Regions from separate parts of the Homo sapiens genome. Here region 1 is linked to region 2. Evidence: promoter capture Hi-C in human tissues and cell types (Jung and others, 2019). All regions are on one chromosome and are shown on one strand. Each heading gives the region's core, a stretch centred on a gene start or on the middle of the fragment in contact. The rest is flanking DNA. Distances are from core to core; before and after follow the strand shown.

The links. Contacts are between HindIII fragments. The study calls those that stand out against the background at their distance.
Region 1: a fragment that was not itself captured here is called in contact with the fragment with the promoter of FLCN in region 2 in 1 of the 25 tissues and cell types used here (mesenchymal stem cells).

What each region holds. Positions count from the first base shown.
Region 1 is chr17:16,958,122-16,962,188 of GRCh38, reverse strand. All of the region lies in intron 1 of TNFRSF13B (TNF receptor superfamily member 13B), which reads left to right. Among named protein-coding and RNA genes, the nearest start is that of TNFRSF13B, 12 kb to the left of the region's middle. The HindIII fragment of the contact is 3,635 bases long and covers 286-3,920 here.
Region 2 is chr17:17,235,900-17,239,937 of GRCh38, reverse strand. FLCN (folliculin) reads left to right here and starts at 2,770. Exons shown (of 14, transcript NM_144997.7): 1 at 2,770-3,026. RefSeq lists a silencer at 1,824-2,009 and an enhancer at 2,444-2,553. The HindIII fragment of the contact is 7,502 bases long and covers 1-4,038 here.

The sequences.
Region 1 (4,067 bases), core at 854-3,353, 280 kb after region 2:
GGAGTTGGTAACTCCTCTGTTTTCCATGCAGGTAATTCATCTCCAGCTCTGGGACAAATCCACCCTGTCAGTTGGTCAGACATCCTCACTTATCACTTCTGTATTTTCACTGGTGACATTTACCCTTCTTCCATTTTAGCTGGGATAGAGTACCCTCTAGACCTTCAAGCAGCTGTCACTGGGGAAGTCCTTCACCATCATGCTGAGAATGTCCATCTTCCTCTCTGCTGACAGGGGTCCTGTTCTACCCGTGGTTTTTTTGGCCACTCCCCAGATTCAGTGGAGCAAGCCCTCCAGTAGCTTCCAAGATCTTGCATGTCTGAGAACGTCTTTATTCTACCTCGCACTTGATAGATAACAATGTTCTAGACTGAAAATAACTTTCTATCCTAAACTTTAAGGCATTGCTCCATTTTCTGCTTACTTTCTGCTTTCTACTTCCACTTTTTGCTGGTAAAATATATATAATGAAACTTTTATCATTTTAATCATCATGACATATTCAATGAAGTGGCATTACGTACATGCACAAGCACCACTATCTATATCCAAAACTTTTTTATGGCCCCAGAAAGAAATTCTGTACCCCATTAATCAATAACGGCTGCCTGTGCTAACCTCTATTTTACTCTCTAACTCTGTGAATTTGCCTCTTCTACTTCCCTCAGGTAAGGGAAATTGTACAATATTTGTCTCTCTATGACTGTCTTATTTCACTTAGCATAATATCTTCAAAGTTTATCCACATTGTAGCATGTATAAGTATTCCATTCATTTTAATAACATCATAGTATCCTGTGTACCTGTAACATATTTTCTTTGTCCATTCATGTGCTGATAAACGATTGGGCTGTTTCCACCTTTGGCTGTTGTGAATATGCTGTTCTGAATGTTGGGGCACAAGTATCTGTTCACATCCCTGTTTCAGTTCTTTTGGATGTTTGCTTAGGAGTGGAATTACTGGGTCTTGTGGTAGTTTTATGTTTGTCTTTTTGAGGATCTGCCAGACTTTTCCACAGCTGTTGCTCTGTTATACATTCCCATGAGCAGTGCCTTCACATCCACTTGCTTCAGATCTCTAACGCTGCTTATTTTCCATTTTTAATAATAGCCATCCTAATGGGTGTGAAATGATATCTCATTGTGGTTTTAATTTGCATTTCCCTAATGACTAATGATGTTGAGCATCTTTTCTTGTGCTTGTTGACCACTTGAATGTTTTATTTGGAGAAATGCTGATTCAAGCCTTTTGCTCAGTTTTGACTTGAGTTGTTTGGTTTTTTGTTGTTGAGTTTTAGGAGTTCTTTATATATTCTGGATATTAACCCCATATTAGGTATATGATTTGAAGATATTTTCTCCCATTCTGTGAGTTGTCTTTTCACTCTCTCAATAGTGTCCTTTGGTGCACAAAAGTTTTAAATTTTGATGAAGTCCAATTTATCTAATTTTTTCCTTTCATTGCCTATGCCTTTGGTGCTGTATCCAAGATATCATTGTCAAATTTAGTGCATGGAGATTTTCCCCTATGTTTTCTTCCAAAAGTTTTATAGTTTTAGCACTTAGTCCATTTTGAGTTAATTTTTGTATGTGGCATTAGGTAAGCATTCAATTTCATTCTCTTGCATGTGAATATCCAATTTTTTCAGCATCATTTATGGAAGAGACTGTCCTTTTCCCCATTGAATGGAATTGTTAGGGTTTTCTACATATAAGATCGGGTTATCTGTGAACAGAGATAATCTTATGCTCTCCTTTCCACTGTGGATACTTCTATTTCTTTTTCTTGTCTAAGTGCTCTGGCTAGTTCTCCTGGTGCTATGTTGAAAAGAAGTGGCAAATGTGTGTATCCTGGCCTTGTTCTGATCTTAGGGCAAAGCTTTCACTTTCACCATTGAGAATGTGGGATCTCAAATATGGCCTTTATCATGATAGGAAAGTTACTTTCTATTCCTAGCTTCTCAAGTGTTTTTATCATTAAAAAAAGTTGGATTTAGTCAAGTGCTTTTTCTGCATCAATTGAGAAGACCACTAAGTTTTATTATTCATTCCTTTAGTGTGGAACTACCATTGCACTCCAAAAATAAATCCCACTTGGTTATGGTGAATAAACTTTTCATGTGCCATTGGGTTCAATTTGTATACATAAGACATATTCGTGTGTAATTTTCTCTCCTTGTGACATCTTTATTGTAATTTTGTATTAGTGTAATGCTGACTTCATGAATGAGTTAGGAAGTGTTCTTTTCTCTTTGGTTTTTGGGAAGAGTTTCAGAAGAATTGGTGTTCATTCTTTTTTAAATGTTTTGGTAGAATTCACTAGTAAAGCAGTCTTGTCCTGAGCTTGTCACTGGTAGGTTTCTGATTACTGATTCAATCTCGTTATAGGAGTATTCAAATTTTCTGTTCATTCATCAGTTTTGGTAGATTGTGTATTTCTAAGAATATGTCCATTTTTATCTAGGTTATCCAATTTGTTGGTGTACCATTGTTTATAGTATTCTTTTATAATCCTTTTTATTTCTGTAAAATAAGTAATAAAGTTCTTAATGTCATTTCTGATTTTAATAATATGAGTCATCTCTCTTTTTCATAGTCAGTCTACCTAAAGGTTTGTCAATTTTGTTGATCTTTTCAAAGAGGAGCTTTTGGTTTTGTTGATTTTCTCTATTGTTTTTTCATTCTCTGTGTTATTGATCTCTGCTCTAGTATTCATTATTTCTTTCCTTCTGCTATTTTTGGATTTGGTTTGTTCTATTTTTATTTCCTCAAGGTATATAATTAGGTTATGATTTAGTTATGATCAGGTTATGATTCTTCTTTTTCAGTGTATGTATTTACATGAATTTCCCTCTTTGCATTGCTTTTGTTGTATTTCATAACTTTTGGTATGTTGTATTTTCATTTTCATTTGTCTCAAGATATTTTATAATTTCCCCTGTCATTTCTTCTTCGACCAATTTGTTGTTGAAGAGCGTGTTGTTTAATTTACACATATTTGTGAATTTTCCAATTTTCCTTCTGTTATTGATCTGTAGTTTTATACCACTATGATCAGAAAAGAAACTTTGAATAATTTTAATTTTAAAAAATTAAAAAATTTTAAAGTTTAGCCTTGTTTTGTGGCTGAACATAAGGTCTATCCTGGAGAATGTTCCATGTGCACTTGAAAAGAATGTGTATTCTGCTGTTGTTGCATTGAGCGTTGTCTATATGTCTGTGATGTCTAATTGGTTTATAGTGTTCTTGATGTCCTCTATTTTCTTATTTATGTGTCTGGTAGTTCTGTCTTATTATTGAAAGTGAGGTACTGAAATATCCCAATATTAGTGTAGGACTATCTATTACTCCCTTCAACTCTGTCAATTTTTGTTTCATATATTTTGGAACCCTGTCATTAGGTGTGTATACATTTATAATTGTTACATCTTTATGCTGTATCCCCTTTATTAATATATATTGTCCTTCTTTGTCTTTTGTAATTTTTTTGTGATTTAAAGTCTGCTTTGTCTGACAACAGTATAGCTGCCCCAGCTCTCTTTTGCTTTCTATTTGCATAAAATACCTTTTCCATTCTTTTACTTTCAACTTCTATTTTACCACTATTTTACTCATTGCCTATTAAATCATATAGGAAAAAATTGGAGTTACAAACCACGCAAAAAGTAAAATAATTCTGGCTTTGTATTTTTTTTTAATCTAAAGTAAGTCTCTTATACACTGAATATACATGAAGCCTGTGGGTTTTTAAATCCAATCTGCCAATTTTTTTTTTTACTAGCAGAGTTTAGTTCATTTACATTTAATATGATCACTGATAAAGATTTACTTCAGCCATTTATATATTTGTTTTATGTATGTCTTACATGTTTTTGTTTCTTCAATTACTTCATTTTTGTATTTTGTTCATTTTTTTTGTAGTGGGCCACTTTGAGTCCCTTTTTCTTTCTTTTTCTATACATATTTTAGTTATTTTCTTGGGGATTACAATTAATATCTTAAACTTATGACGTCCTAGTTTGAATAATATCAACTTAGTTTCGGTAGGTCATAAGAGCTTTGCTCCT
Region 2 (4,038 bases), core at 1,521-4,020:
ATAAGATGTGACTTTTCCCTGCCACTTGGCTCTATGGTCCTGGCAACTGATGCCTTGGAAGTGATTGATCAGTTTGGATACTCAGCTATAATGAAGCCTCTTGGTTTAGCAGTAGTAAGAAGGCAGAAAAGCATCAAAAAACCTTAATTCTGATTGAGCCTATTTCAGTGGTGGAAAAAAATCTTAATTCTGATTGAGCCTGTTTCAGTGGTGGAAAAAACACATTCTGGATTGTATGCATGCCAGGCAGTAACATATCCAGAGCTTCTGGAATCATTTCATACAATTTCCATTATGGGATAGAAGCTTTGAGATTAGCATTGCATTTCATTTGGTTGTGAATTGTTGAACATTATTGGTATCTGTGCTTTCTGAACATTACTGCTGAGTTTCAATTATCTTTCCCATGAGAATGGGCACATTTTCCGACTTCTAAGATGTCCCTTTTGTTGCATGACCTTGAAAGTTTTTATACCCCATGAGAGCCCAATTTAAATAACCTTTGGTACAATTCACTGAGGCAAAGATTTGGCAGTTGTTAATTTTTTTTTTAAAGATTTATAGGTTTATTTAAGAAAGTACCTCCAAAAGAGGTAGGTGGCTGAAGCCAGTGGTGTTGGGAAAGATGTTAATGGCCTAAATTGAGCCCAGGTGTGGTAAATGCACATTGACTTTTACTGAAAATACACTAGTTGAATAACCTTCCGCCATTAGCCTATCACCATGGAAATAAGGATAATCTGAGCAAGGTGGTGAACTCCACTAACAAACTGAAAAAGGTAATTCCTGGAATTAAAGTTACAAGGTGAAAAAAACCTTGTTCTTGACTTAAAAATCTCATTAACAAACATTAGTTTCAAGAACTTGAACCCGGGAGGTGGAGGTAGCAGTGAGCCGAGATCGCGCCACTGCACTCCAGCCTGGGAGACATAGCAAGACTCCGTCTCTAAAATAAAATAAAATAAAATCACCCTGTAACTTACTACCTCCTCAGAAATTAAGTTTGCGCTGTCCAACAGCAAGAGGAATTCGCTTGATAAGAATAATTAAACACATAAAGGCAATGCCTAACCTCGTAACGCCACCCCATATTCCTTAATCTTTACCAAGCCACTATAAGACGGCAGAAAACACAAGCTGCACTTTCGTTCTTTTCTCGTGTCCCGTTTTCAACAGACCATGGATTTTTTTTTTTTTTTTTAGATGGAGTCTCGCTCTGTGCCAGGCTGGAGTGCAGTGGCACGATCTCAGCTCACTGCAACCTCTGCCTCCCGGGTTTAAGCAATTCTCCTGCCTCAGCCACCAGAGTAGCTGGGACTACAGGCGTGTGCCACCACGCCCAGCTAATTTTTTTTGTATTCTTAGTAGAGAGGGGGTTTCACCTGTTGGCCAGGATGGTCTCCATCTCTTTACCTCGTAATCCGCCCACCTCGGCCTCCCAAAGTGTTGGGATATTATAGGCGTGAGCCACCGCGCCCGACCAGAACATGGAAATTTAAAGAGAAAAAAATAAGTGACTTCTGATTTCAAAAACACAACCACCCACTTTTCTATTCTATTCCTGGTGAGCACATTCTGGAGACTCTGCGGCAACCATAGCCTCGGCCGCGGCGGAAGGCTCCGGGGCGGCCACACCTCAGGGGGCAGCCACACCTCAGGGGGCAGCGCGCACAGGCGGGTCAGGCTCTGATTCCCATCTCTCTCCGGTCTTCACTGGAAGGACCCACACTACATCACAAACTAATGGCTTTACAATTAACTTCTAAGTAGCTAAATTTAGTAATGGGCGCTCTAGTTTTAAAAAATATTATTCAGGCCGGGCGCGGTGGCTCACGCCTGTAATCCCAGCACTTTGGGAGGCCGAGGCTGGTGGATCACCTGAGGTTAGGAGTTCAAGACCAGCCTGGCCAAAAGGGTGAAAACCCGTCTCTGCAAAAATACAAAAAATTAGCCAGGCGTGGTGGCGGACGCCTGTAGTCCCCAGCTACTCGGGAGGCTGAGGCAGGAGAATCGCTTGAACCCGGGAAGCGGAGGTTGCAGTAAGGCGAGGTCGCGCCACTGGACTCCAGCCTGGGCAACAAGAGCGAAAGCGAAACTCTGTCTCAAAAAAAGAATATTATTCAAAAACTGATTTTCACATTTTTAAAAAAGACCCACTGAGGGAGGAAGACCGAATCCCACACATGCGCGCGCACAGCGGTTCCGAGTTCTGCAACCAACCTCCCACGGGCGCCGCGCCTTCTCCGCGTCACGTGACGGCCGTCTCCCGCACCTTCCATACTCTCAATGTAGGGAGAGGACGGGTTCCATCAGCAATTTAATAAAAACCATTGGTGAAGCAAAAAAAAAAAGCCTGCCAACCTCTTATAACGTTTTTTCTTTATTTTTCTCTTTTATGTGGACAGGAAGCCTTAGGTTGGCTATATTTACCCTCAAATCTCTTTTTAAAATGATTTTTAAGTTTCAGCATACTCCCGCGCTTAATGAAATGGTTTCCCCCAGCATCCCCAGCTGGTGCGGTCTGAACCATTCGGAACTTCCCAGAGGGGGGCACCGGAATAGGGGCGGTGGAAAAGGGTAATTGTCGGGCAGCGGCCCCTGCTTCCCAGTCAGACCTCGGAGTTGTAGGACTCGGACTGTGTTCCTGGGCTTGCGAGAGCTAGGGAGGCCCGGCTCTCCTCGCGGTGCAGGACGCGCTCGGACGGCTCCCGCACCCCCACCGCAGTGTTGGGTGGTGGTACGGCTCAGGGAGTCACGCGCCTGGGTGTCGGCGGGGCTGCGGGACCGCGAGTGAGTGTGGTCGCTCCTGGTTCTGCCAGCTCCCCTGAGAGCCTGAACCCGGGCTTGAGAGCCTCGCCACCCCGGGTGACATCCCTGCCGTGGGCTTGGGGGCTCTGGGTGTGATTCCGCCGGTCCGGGTCCCGCAGCGACCACCTACCCAGCGCAGTCAGGGGCGGGGCTGGGACCCAGAGCGGGACCCCGGCTGCCGAGTCCAGGTGTCCCGCGGGCCTCGATTTGGGGAGCAGGTAGGCGGGGGTCTGAGGGGTTGGCGGAGGGGCATGTCCGAGTTTTCGTTGGTCCCAGGTGGACGAGTAATGGGGGAGGGTTTAGGGCCAGAGTCCAGGGCGTCGCCGAGACCCTGAGATTTGAAGATAGGTTGGGGGCACGCCCATTAACCAAGTCTATGGGGATGAGGACTGTGATCTCATTTGATGTTGCCATGAAACGGGACTGTTTGCCTTCCCTTCTCCCAGGTTTTGTCTTCGCTCTGTTTGGAGGAGAGGGTGTGTGTCATCCTCTTCTCCCAGTTTGGCGTTCAGGAGGGTCCTCTGATGCGCTAATAGGGTAGCACCGTGTCCTCCAGGGAGGGTGGAAGACCGCGCTTCTCTCCAGTTGAGAGTACTGTCAGTCGCGTCCTTGTCTCCTGGAAAGAATGGATTGGCTTGTGGATTGAAGTCCAAGGTGTGGTCACTAGCAGTCTCTTCAAGTGGGGACACAGGGCAAGGAGGAGCTTGCTGGAAGTAGGTTCTGGCTCTCTAGCCTTTGGCCACAGCCAGTTTAGTGCCAGATTATCACCGTGGTCATCAAGTAATTGAGTAATAGTGGCAGGTGACACTGCGTTTGCCCTTCTAGTGTCCTATGTCAGGGAGCTCTGTGAATGGAAATCCAGGGAAACGGTGGAAATAGAGCCACAGTGAGAGTGGATCTGAACTGGCAGTCATCCCCTGCAGAACTTTTCACCCTGGGCTTGTTGGGATCCCAGCTGCTAACTTAATGAGGCTCCCCAGTGGGAGACTAGTTATAGAAGCTGTGTGTCCACTGCTGGTTAAGATCCGTTATAGTGCTTTGTTTATTTAGAGTGCCCTTACTTAGTGGCCTCTTTAATTCTCCACGGTGCTATGAGAACACCATAGGAAGTAGGGTTGAAATAGGGCCAGGGCGCACCACGGGTGGTGGTGAGGTCACTGTCCAGGTCTGGGACTCAGCCATTGTGGGAGGGGGACATGAACAGACACTCTACCACATCAGGGAATTTGA